Linked DNA regions of Homo sapiens: region 2 is linked to region 1. Evidence: promoter capture Hi-C in 16 types of primary human blood cells and fetal thymus (Javierre and others, 2016). All regions are on one chromosome and are shown on one strand. The core of a region is centred on a gene start or on the middle of the fragment in contact, and the rest is flanking DNA. Distances in the headings are between cores, read along the strand shown. Region 1 holds the start of C11orf65 (chromosome 11 open reading frame 65). Region 2 has its middle 3.8 kb from the start of CWF19L2.

Region 1 (5,449 bases), core at 1,704-4,203:
AGTGAAGAGGACAGATTTCTCAGCCAAGAATTAGCTAAAGGTGCCAACTCCCTTCCTCTAGCCTCTTCAAACTGCTAAGCCTCAACAAGAGGATTGATGCCTGGTTGGAGGTCCCTCTGGCCTCCTTTAGGACCACTGCAGGACCTGTGCCTTTGACCCACACCCACTCCTCATGTGTGACATTGTGGTTTTCTACTACATGACATATTTTCCACAATTATAAAAGATTCCATGCTCACATCCGGGAGACAGCCTTGGAGTCCCCTATTGTTGGAGTTTGCTCCAGTGCCAAAGCAGAGAGGAAAGAAATGGCATATAATTGTGACTCTTCTCCCTAGGCAAAATGGCATGTAATTGTGACTCTTCTCCCTCGGCACTACAGATATTTCCCCTTTCCTCATGCCAATTCATTTTTGTTTCCTTATCTCTTGTCTTCACATGGTTTATAAAGAAAAATCTTTGCCTTGTAAGTGGAAAGCAAGAATATTAATTTCATAAATATAATATGATATATTGTATAATAGTAGTAAGACAAAGAAGAGAGAAAAAGAAGAGGAAGAGAATAAGTGGAGAGGGGAAGAGAGAAGGAAGGAAGGAACGATTTCTGTGAAACCACCCAGAAGTTCTTCTGAGTTCTGCGTCTTAGTAAACTGTTCCTAGATTTAAGCAGGTACATATAAATGAATAAACCTAACACTTGACAGTTTCTAGTCTTAATGATCCCTTGTGGCTACTTTAAAGAAAGATACTTTTAAAGAACTGAACAATTTTTACATGTATTAGAGCAATAAGAAAATGTTCTAGCCTGTTATGTAGAAATTGCTGAATTCTTGTGGATCAGGTTAGAGGTAACATAAGTACTCAACAGTAACTATTGTAAATACTTTTTAAAATAATTCAGATAAGCACTACATTAAAAATATGCAGTTTATTAGGTTGATGCAAAAGTAATCGCGGTTTTTGCCATTATGTTTAATTATGTATGTTTAATGACAAAAACCGCAATTACTTTTGCACCAACCTAATAAAAATAATATCTAAACAGCAGTATACCTTAAATTTATTTTTATATTTCATCCAGTACATTTAGGAATTTTTGTTCTAAATTATTTACTGGCTTAGTTTTGCAGTTTTTTAATTTAAAATTTTTAAATTGTGGTAAAATATACATAAATTTATCCTTCTAACTAGTTTCAATTGTACAATTCAGTGGACTTAAGTACATTCACATTGTTGTGTAATTTTGAATTTAATTTTTTTTTTTTTTTAGAGGGAATCTTGCTGTGTTGCCAGGCTGAAGTGCAATGGCGCTATCTCGGCTCACTGCAACCAACCTCTGCCTCCCGGGTTCTATCAATTCTCCTGCCTCAGCTTCCTGAGTAGCTGGGACTACAGGCAGCGCGCCACCAGGAGATTGAGACCATCCTGGCTAACACAGTAAAACCCCGTCTCTACTAAACATACAAAAAATTAGCCGGGTATCATGGAGGGCGCCTGTAGTCCCAGCTACTTGGGAGGCTGGGCTAATTTTTGTATTTTTAGTAGAGAGGGGGTTTCACCATGTTGTCCAGGCTGGTCTTGAACTCCTGACCTCAAGTGATCCGCCCACCTCAGCCTCCCAAAGTGCTGGGATTACAGGTGTGAGCCACCACACCTGGCCTGAATTTAAATTTTTTAACCCAGTTTCTATTAGATTGAAAATTAAGATATACATAATGTTTCCATGACTATATTTTTACAGTTTATTGTTCATAACTACTGTGTATTAATGCATCAAGGCAACTACATAAAGAGGAACTGAAGCTCACCCCTTGCTTATGATTGTGATGATTTTAAAGAACTCTGGAAGTTCAGTGAGTCACTGAATTAACCTACCAAGAATTTTTTCTGTACAAATGTTTTCATTATACAGGGAAATTTCTCTTCAGGTGTTTCTTTTCCCTCCTTAAAAGTTTATCTTCCTTACAAACAAATTATATTCCATGCATGAACATAGGACGAACATAGCAAAACTGGGCAGTTCTGAACAAGATTTTTTCACATTGCAATAATCTGTGACCAACTAAAGCACTGCCAAAGTGTCAGACTCAGAATTCAAGCAAGTCAGACTTGCTTTAGATAAGCAGTGCTTGCATTATTTAAGGTCATTTGAAAACTCATTCAAGAGGTCGTCTGTTTTCACTTAAAGCAGTTTAGCTTAACCAGCTGAAGAGCTTACATTTAGAAATAACATTGGACTGCAAGTCACGTATTCTTTGACCTTGAGCAAGACCTGTCAAATAGCTAGAAGGATCAGTTGTCTCATTTTCAAATGAATAAATTAAACTAATTAAATAGGCCGGGCGCGGTGGTTCACGCCTGTAATCCTAGCACTTTGGGAGGCCAAGGCGGGAGATGGGGTAGGGGGGGATCGCTGGAGCCCAGGAGTTCAAGACCAGCCTGGACAACATGGAGAAACCCTGTCGCCACTATTAATAAAAATAGAAAAATGAGCCTGGCGTGGTGGTGCACTCCTACGGTCCCAGCTACTCGGGAGGCTGACGTGGGAGAATCACCTGAGCCAGGGGAGTTCCAGGCTGCAGTGAGCCGAGATCGCGCCACTGCACTCCAGCCTCGGCCACAGATTGAGACCCTATCTCAAGAAAAATTTTACAAAAATTAATAGAAAATATTTCATTATATTTCTCAACATCTTTAAGGTTCTTGGTTGAAATGACTGGGCTTTATTATATACTAAGCCCAACTTCGTAGACAATCACTTTGCTTTCCCTTCCAAAATCCTTTGCCTCAAAGCCACTGACAATCGAAAGCGGGCTTCTAACAGAACCAGCAGCCTTCACAAGCGGTTGGTCTATATCCCCTGCACTTTGTCAGAGCGCGAATAGAGGAAAGGCGGGGCCTAGAAGGCGGGGCTAGGAGGGCAATGGGGCGGGACAGAACGGATTGAGTTACGTCATTTCCGCCTGCGACGTTACCTAGGAGTCCAGCGGCGCCCGGGCCAGCAGCGATTGGTAGGTGAAGGGAATAGTGTCCCTTCTCTCAGCGCGTACTACTGTTCCGGTAGCCTTTGTGCCCACTGGTTTGAGCCTTCGTTGTTTCAAGGCCCTAAAGAACCCATACCCTTGATACCATTCCCCATCCGCCCCTCTTAAGGACGTTTCATTCCTCTAAAGCCCTCCCAGCGAGGCCTCCAGCTGGTTTACAGTCCTGCCCGGGAGTAACCCCTTCCTCAGAGCTCCTTTCCTCGCCCTCGGTGAAGTTGCGTCGGGCTGGTTGACAAGTCCTTACTGCTCATACTGCGCCTTCACAGATCCCCACACCCCAATCCTCCGCAAAGATATTACTCCGTCCACCTTCCCGCTGACCGGGAAGTACACATTAATCTTCCTTAGATTTTTCCTCATTTCTTTCCTTTGCCCCCTCCCATTTGTTTTACGTCTTTTCAGTTTTTTTAGAGATGGAAAAGGGAAACGCGTTTTTAAAGAATAGGTTAGTTTTTCTTCTCCTGCCCCTAGCATCAAGGACCACAGGTAAAAAGGAAAAGCGAAATTACGAAACTTATAAAGGCCACGCGAATCATTTGTTTATTCAATAAATTTAGTAGAGGAAACAAAATAGGACGTATACAGGTTCCAATTCAAGCAAAGTAAAGATTGTTTGCTGCTTTAAAAGTGAAACCAAGAATCCAAACACGTCTTGTGGGCTTTTTTCCACGAAGCGTAAAAATAAATAAGTGAAAACATCATCTATTATGATAAAAAATTTTATTGATTAGGGATATAATAAGCTTGGAAAATACTTATCTGTGAATCTACAAGTGGCACATGGGTGTAGTAAAATACTTCATTGCCTGAGCAGTTGTTTGATAGTACATTTTATTTGGTTAGTTTTTTGTTGTTGTTTGTTTTTGAGAAGGCATCTCGCTGTGTTGCCCAGGCTGAGTGCAGTGGCGTGATCTCAGTTCACTGCAACCTCTGCCTCCTGGGTTCAAGTTATTCTCCTGCCTCAGCCTTCCGAGTAGCTGTGACTGCAAGTGTGCGCCACCACACCCAGTTTATTTTTGTATTTTTACTAGAGACAGGGTTTCACCATATTGGCCAGGCTGGTCTCAAACCCCTGACTTAAGGTGATCTGCCCACCTTGGCCTCCCAAAATGTTAGGATTACAGGCCTGAGCCACCAGACCCGGCCTGGTAGTACATTTTAGTATCTTAAAACTTATGAAGGGTTTTCACAATGGTTATTTTATCTGGAGCATCATAATAACCATATAAAGTCGATCTTATTTCTTATCTAAAGCCAGCAACGGTCCCACCCTCCTTTCTGCTCCAGATGGTGTCCTCTTACACCTACTCAAAGGTTTTACCATTTAACTTATCCCTTTTTTTGCCCCTTTAAGTTCTCCGTCACTTTAATTTCTCCCTCACTACTGGATGGTACATTTTAACATGCTTTAGAATCTGTCGTTTTTTGTTGTTGTTGTTGTTTTTTTTTTTTTTTAGACCGAGTTTCACTCTTGTTGCCCAGGCTGGAGTAGTGGCATGATCTCGACTCACCGCAACCTCCGCCTGCCAGGTTCAAGCAATTCTCCTGCCTCAGCCTTCCTGAGTAGCTGGGATTACAGGCATGCGCCACCACACCCAGCTAATTTTGTATTTTTAGTAGAGACGGGATTTCTCCATTTTGGTCAGGCTGGTCTCAAACTCCCAACCTCAGATGATCCGCCCACCTTGGCCTCCCAAAGTGCTGGGATTACAGGCGTGAGCCACCGCGCCCAGCCTTTTTTTTTTAAAAAAAAACCTTTAATCCATTCTCACTCTCTAGCTACACCCCATTTTTCTGCTCCCTTACAGCACTCCAAAGAATTACTACTGTACTTACTGTCTCAACTTTCCCACTTCCTCAACCCAACCCAAACTTCCTTCCCTGCTTACTCCACTGAAGCAGTGCCTGTACAGTCACTAGTGACTTTATCTGGCCAAATCTCCCTTTTTTTCCTCTGTATTTACTTGCCCTTGCAACAATATTTGACACAATTGAATATGTTCTTTCTTGAAATTGTGGAACTTCATTGTTTATTTCTGAATCAGATAATTTTGAATGCTGGAATATATTTCCTCTATATTTTGTGTATTCATAAACATATAATGGTGGCATTTATGACATACTTTTTTGGCAGCTTCTAAACACCCTTTAGCCTATGTCACTAGAGAAGCAGGAAGCAGGTGTATGCAGAAAGCCCGTGTAAAATTATTTAGATCAAAGTATTCAATAAACTGGTTCAGGATTTTCAAGGGATTTTTAAGATCCAGTGTTAAATTTCCACCTACAAAATTGGGAATGTATTTGGGAAAATGATGAAATTGTGATGAATTAATGCTAATGCTGTCACGTTAAATAACACACACACTACATTGATAACAGGTAAAAAATCTCACAGTTTAGTTCTT
Region 2 (5,069 bases), core at 2,066-4,565, 1.0 Mb after region 1:
ATAGTGGGATAATTTAACTCCCTACTGTCAATTTTAGACAGATCAACAAGACAGAAAATTAACAAGGATATCCAGGACTTGAACTCAGCTATGGACCAAGCAGATCTAATAGACATCTACAGAACTCTCCACCCCAAATCAACAGAATGTACATTCTTCTCAGTACCACATCACACTTATTCTAAAATTGACCACATTATTGGAAGTAAAACACTACTCAGCAAATGCAAAAGAATGGAAATCATAACAGTCTCTCAGACCACAGTGCAATCAAATTAGAACTCTGGATGAAGAAACTCAATCAAAACTGCACAACTACATGGAAACTGAACAACCTGCTCTTAAATGACTACTGGGTAAATAATGAAATTAGGCAGAAATAAATAAGTTCTTTGAAGCCAATGAGAACAAACACACAACGTATCAGAATCTCTGGGACACAGCTAAAGCAGTGCTTTGAGGGAAATTTATAGCACTAAATGACTACAAGAGAAAGTAGGAAAGATCTAAAATTGACCCCCTAACATCACAATTAAAAGAACTAGAGAAGCAAGCGCAAACAAATTCAAAAGCTAGCAGAAGACAAGAAATAACTAAGATCAGAGCAGAACTGAAGGAGATAGAGACATGAAAAACCCTTCAAAAAATCAATGAATCCAGGAGCTGTTTTTTTTAAAGATCAACAAAATAGACCACTAGCCAGACTATAAAGAAGAAAACAGAGAAGAATCAAATAGGTGCAATAAAATTGATAAAGGGGATATCAACACTGATCCCACAGAAATACAAACTACCATCAGAGAATACTATAAACACCTTTATGCAAATAAACTAGAAAATCTAGAAGAAATGGATAAATTTCTGGACACATATACCCTCTCAATTCTAAAGCAGGAAGAAGTCGAATCCCTGAATAGATCAATAACAAGTTCTAAAATTGAGGTAGTAATTAATAGCCTACCAACAAAAAAAAGTCCAGGACCAGAAGGATACACAGCCGAATTCTACCAGAGGTACAAAGAGGAGCTGGTCCCATTCCTTCTGAAACTATTTCAATCAATAGAAAAAGAGGGACTCCTCCCTAACTCATTTTGTGAGGTCAGCATCATCCTGATACCAAAACCTGGCAGAGACACAACAACAACAACAAAAAATTTCAGGCCAGTATCCCTGATGGACATTGATGTGAAAATCCTCAATAAAATACTGGCAAGCCGAATCCAGCAGCACATCAAAAAGCTTATCCACCATGATCAAGTCGGCTTCATCCCTGGGATGCAAGGCTGGTTCAACATATGCAAATCAATAAATGTAAACCATCACTTAAAAAGATCCAATGACAAAAACCACATGATCATCTCAATAGATGCAGAAAAGGCCTTCAATAAAATTAAACACCCCTTCATGCTAAAAACTCTTTAATAAACTAGGTATTGATCGAATGTATCTCAAAATAATAAGAGCTATTTATGACAAACCCACAGCAAATATCATACTGAATGGGCAAAAACTGGAGGCATTCCCTTTGAAAACCGGCACAAGACAGGGATGCCCTCTCTCACCACTCCTATTCAACATTGAATATTGGAAGTTCTGACCAGGGTAATCAGGCAAGAGAAAGAAATAAAGGGTATTCTAATAGCAAGAGAGGAAGTCAAATTGTCTCTGTTAGCAGATGACATGATTGTATATTTAGAAAACCCCACCGTCTCAGCCCAAAATCTCCTTAAGCTGATAAGCAACTTCAGCAAAGTCTCAGGATACAAAATCAATGTGCAAAAATCACAAGCATTCCTATACACCAATAACAGACAAACAGAGAGCCAAATCATGAGTGAACTCCCATTCACAATTGCTACAAAGAGAATAAAATACCTAGGAATACAACTTATAAGAGATGTGAAGGAACTCTTCAAGGAGAACTACAAACCACTGCTCAAGGAAATAAGAGAGGACACAAACAAATGGAAAAACATTCCATGCTCATGGATAGGAAGAATCAATACTGTAAAAATGACCATACTGTCCAAAGTAATTTATAGGTGCAATGCTATCCCCATCAAGTTACCATTGACTTTCTTCACAGAATTAGAAAAAACTACTTTAAATTTCATATGGAACAAAAAAAGAGCCTGCATAGCCAAGACAATCCTAAGCAAAAAGAACAAAGCTGGAGGCATCACATTACCTGACTTCAAACTATACTACAAGGCTACAGTAACCAAAACAACATGGTGCTAGTACCAAAACAGATATATAGACCAATGGAACAGAACAGAGGCCTCAGAAATAACACCACACATCCACAACCATCTGATCTTTGACAAACCTGACAAAATCAAGAAATGGAGAAAGGATTCCCTATTTAATAAATGGTGTTGGGAAAACTGGCTAGGCATATGCAGAACACTGAAACTGGACCCCTTCCTTACACCTTATACAAAAATTAACTCAAGATGGATTAAAGACTTAAATGTAAGACCTAAAACCATAAAAACCCTAGAAGAAAACCTAGGCAATACCATTCAGGACATAGGCTTGGGCAAACACTTCATGACTAAAACACCAAAAGCAATGGCAACAAAAGCCGAAATTGGCAAATGGGATCTAATTAAACTAAAGAGCTTATGCACAGCAAAAGAAACTATCATCAGTGAACAGGCAACCTACAGAATGGGAGAAAATTTTTGCAATCTGTTCATCTGACAAAGGGCTAATATCCAGAATCTACAAAGAACTTCAACAAATTTACAAGAAAAAAACAACCCCATCAGAAAGTGGGCTAAGGGTATGAACAGACACTTTTCAAAAGAAGACATTTATGCAGCCAATAAACATATGAAAAAAAGCTCATCTTCACTGGTCATTAGAGAAATGCCAATCAAACCACAATGAGATACCATCTCATGCCAATTAGAATGGCGATCATTAAAAAGCCAGGAGACAACAGATGCTGGAGAGGATGTAGAGAAATAGGAATGCTTTTACACTGTTGGTGGGAGTGTAAACTAGTTCAACCATTGTGGAAGACAGTGTGGTGATTCCTCAAGGATCTAGAACCAGAAATAACATTTGTCCCAGCAATCCCATTACTGGGTATATACCCAAAGGATTATAAATCATTCTACTATAAAGACATGCACACGTACGTTTATCTCTGCACTGTTCACAATAGCAAAGACTTGGAACCAACCCGAATGCCCATCAATGATAGACTGGTTTAAGAAAATGTGTTACATATACACCATGGAATACTATGCAGCCATAAAAAGGATGAGTTTATGTCCTTTGCAGGGACATGGATGAAGCTGGAAACCATCATTCTCAGCAAACTAACACAAGAACAGAAAACCAAACACCGCATGTACTCATAAGTGGGAGTTGAACAATGAGAACACATGGACACAGAGAGGGAACATCACACACCAGGGCCTGTTGGGGGGTGAGGGGCTGGGGGAGGGATAGCATTAGGAGAAATACCTAATGTAGATGACGGGTTGATGGGTGCAGCATACCTCCATACCACGTGTATACCTATGTAACAAACCTGCACATTCTGTACATGTACCCCAGAACTTAAAGTATATATATATATATATATATATATATATATATATATATATATATATATATATATATAAAGAATGTGGGTACATGTCTAAAGGACACAGGAACCAGCTTGAAAGGGCTCTCACTGGCCTAACCTGGACCAATTTGAGGATCAAAATAAATACTGATAACGAATTTTTATCCCACTGAACAAAAACAGGAATCCACTGAGAAATTATGAATCTGTATTATATAAAAATAAATAACTTGAAAATTTGGTACATGATCTACATAGTTTCAAAGAACCACTTCACAAAATACTTATTATAGAAGGAAAAGAGGTACTTTACAGCAGAGAAGCTCTGCAGATGCCAGTTTATTTAAATGATCAGAATTAACATCACCTGTAATGGAACAAATGGAAATCATGCGCTACCCAACAGGATGCAGTAAGACCGCCTCACTTCTGTGATCGTCCTGCTTAAGAGGCCAAATTTGAATTTAATCACAAAAGAACCTCCGACAAACCCAAGTTGAGTGACATTCTATAACACAACTATCCTGCAATCTTCATGAAACTTTTGTAGTTAATTGTGATCATCTGACCTATTTCTGGATCATAGGATTTAAATGAAAGAAACTGAACTAGGCTTTAGGAAAAGCCATCATTTTTCTAATAAAAAATGAGGCCAGCTTAGCTAACAACGTTTACCCTTTGTCCTTTCTCTTTATTCTTGTTTATCAGATGCCGTGAACAGATGTGAAAGAATATGATACCCTGCTTGTGACTACAAATACTAAAGTCACAGACTGCAACAAAGCGAAAAAGGATAAACTATTTGGCTCCTTCAGCAATTGCACCAAGCCTGGACCAGTTACTTTTAGGCTCCTTGTTACGTTATCCTTTATTTGATTAAGCCATGTGACTGGATTCGCATTAGGTGTGGCCAAATGCAAACCTAGCCAAAATAACCTGCTTTTTCTTTCTTTTCTTTTCTTTTCTTTTTTCTATTTTAACATATCTAGTTCCCCTCTCTAACCCCAACTTTTTTTTGGGCAGTTTTATTTGTATTGCATGGTATTTACAAATTAATTGAGAAATGATTTTTTATGATGTTTTCTTCTTTAAGCACATAGTATACCTCTCCATTCGTTCTAGTCTTTTTGGGGAGCTTATGCAAGATTTTAAAGTTTTCTTCATATAACTTTGCACATTGCTCTAGACCGAATGTTTGTTTCCCCAAAATTCTTATGTTGAAATCTAATCCCCAATGTGCTGGTATATGGAGGTAGGGACTCTGGGAGGTGATTAGGTCATGAGAGCAGCACCCTCATGAATTCCTATAAAAGAAGTTCTAGAGAGATCCCTCTCCCTTTCCGCCATATGAGACACAGCAAAAATACTGCCCTCTAGGAACCAGGACACACCTTCACTAGACAGCAAATAGCCCAACACCTTGATTTTATCCAGCCTCCAGAACTGTAAGACATACTTGTTTGTTATTTATAAGCCATCCATT

What was found. The method cuts DNA at HindIII sites, captures the fragments that hold promoters and counts their contacts. A CHiCAGO score of 5 or more calls a contact.
Region 2: a fragment that was not itself captured here is called in contact with the fragment with the promoter of C11orf65 in region 1 in 2 of 17 cell types (non-activated CD4 T cells and total CD8 T cells); the score reaches 7.7 in non-activated CD4 T cells.

The regions. Positions count from the first base shown.
Region 1 is chr11:108,465,033-108,470,481 of GRCh38, reverse strand. C11orf65 (chromosome 11 open reading frame 65) reads left to right here and starts at 2,953. Exons shown (of 9, transcript NM_152587.5): 1 at 2,953-3,011. RefSeq lists a cis regulatory region at 2,869, enhancers at 2,797-2,941, 2,882-3,734 and a silencer at 4,766-5,060. The HindIII fragment of the contact is 4,195 bases long and covers 1-3,789 here.
Region 2 is chr11:107,459,057-107,464,125 of GRCh38, reverse strand. No RefSeq gene overlaps it. Among named protein-coding and RNA genes, the nearest start is that of CWF19L2, 3.8 kb to the right of the region's middle. The HindIII fragment of the contact is 4,148 bases long and covers 1,242-5,069 here.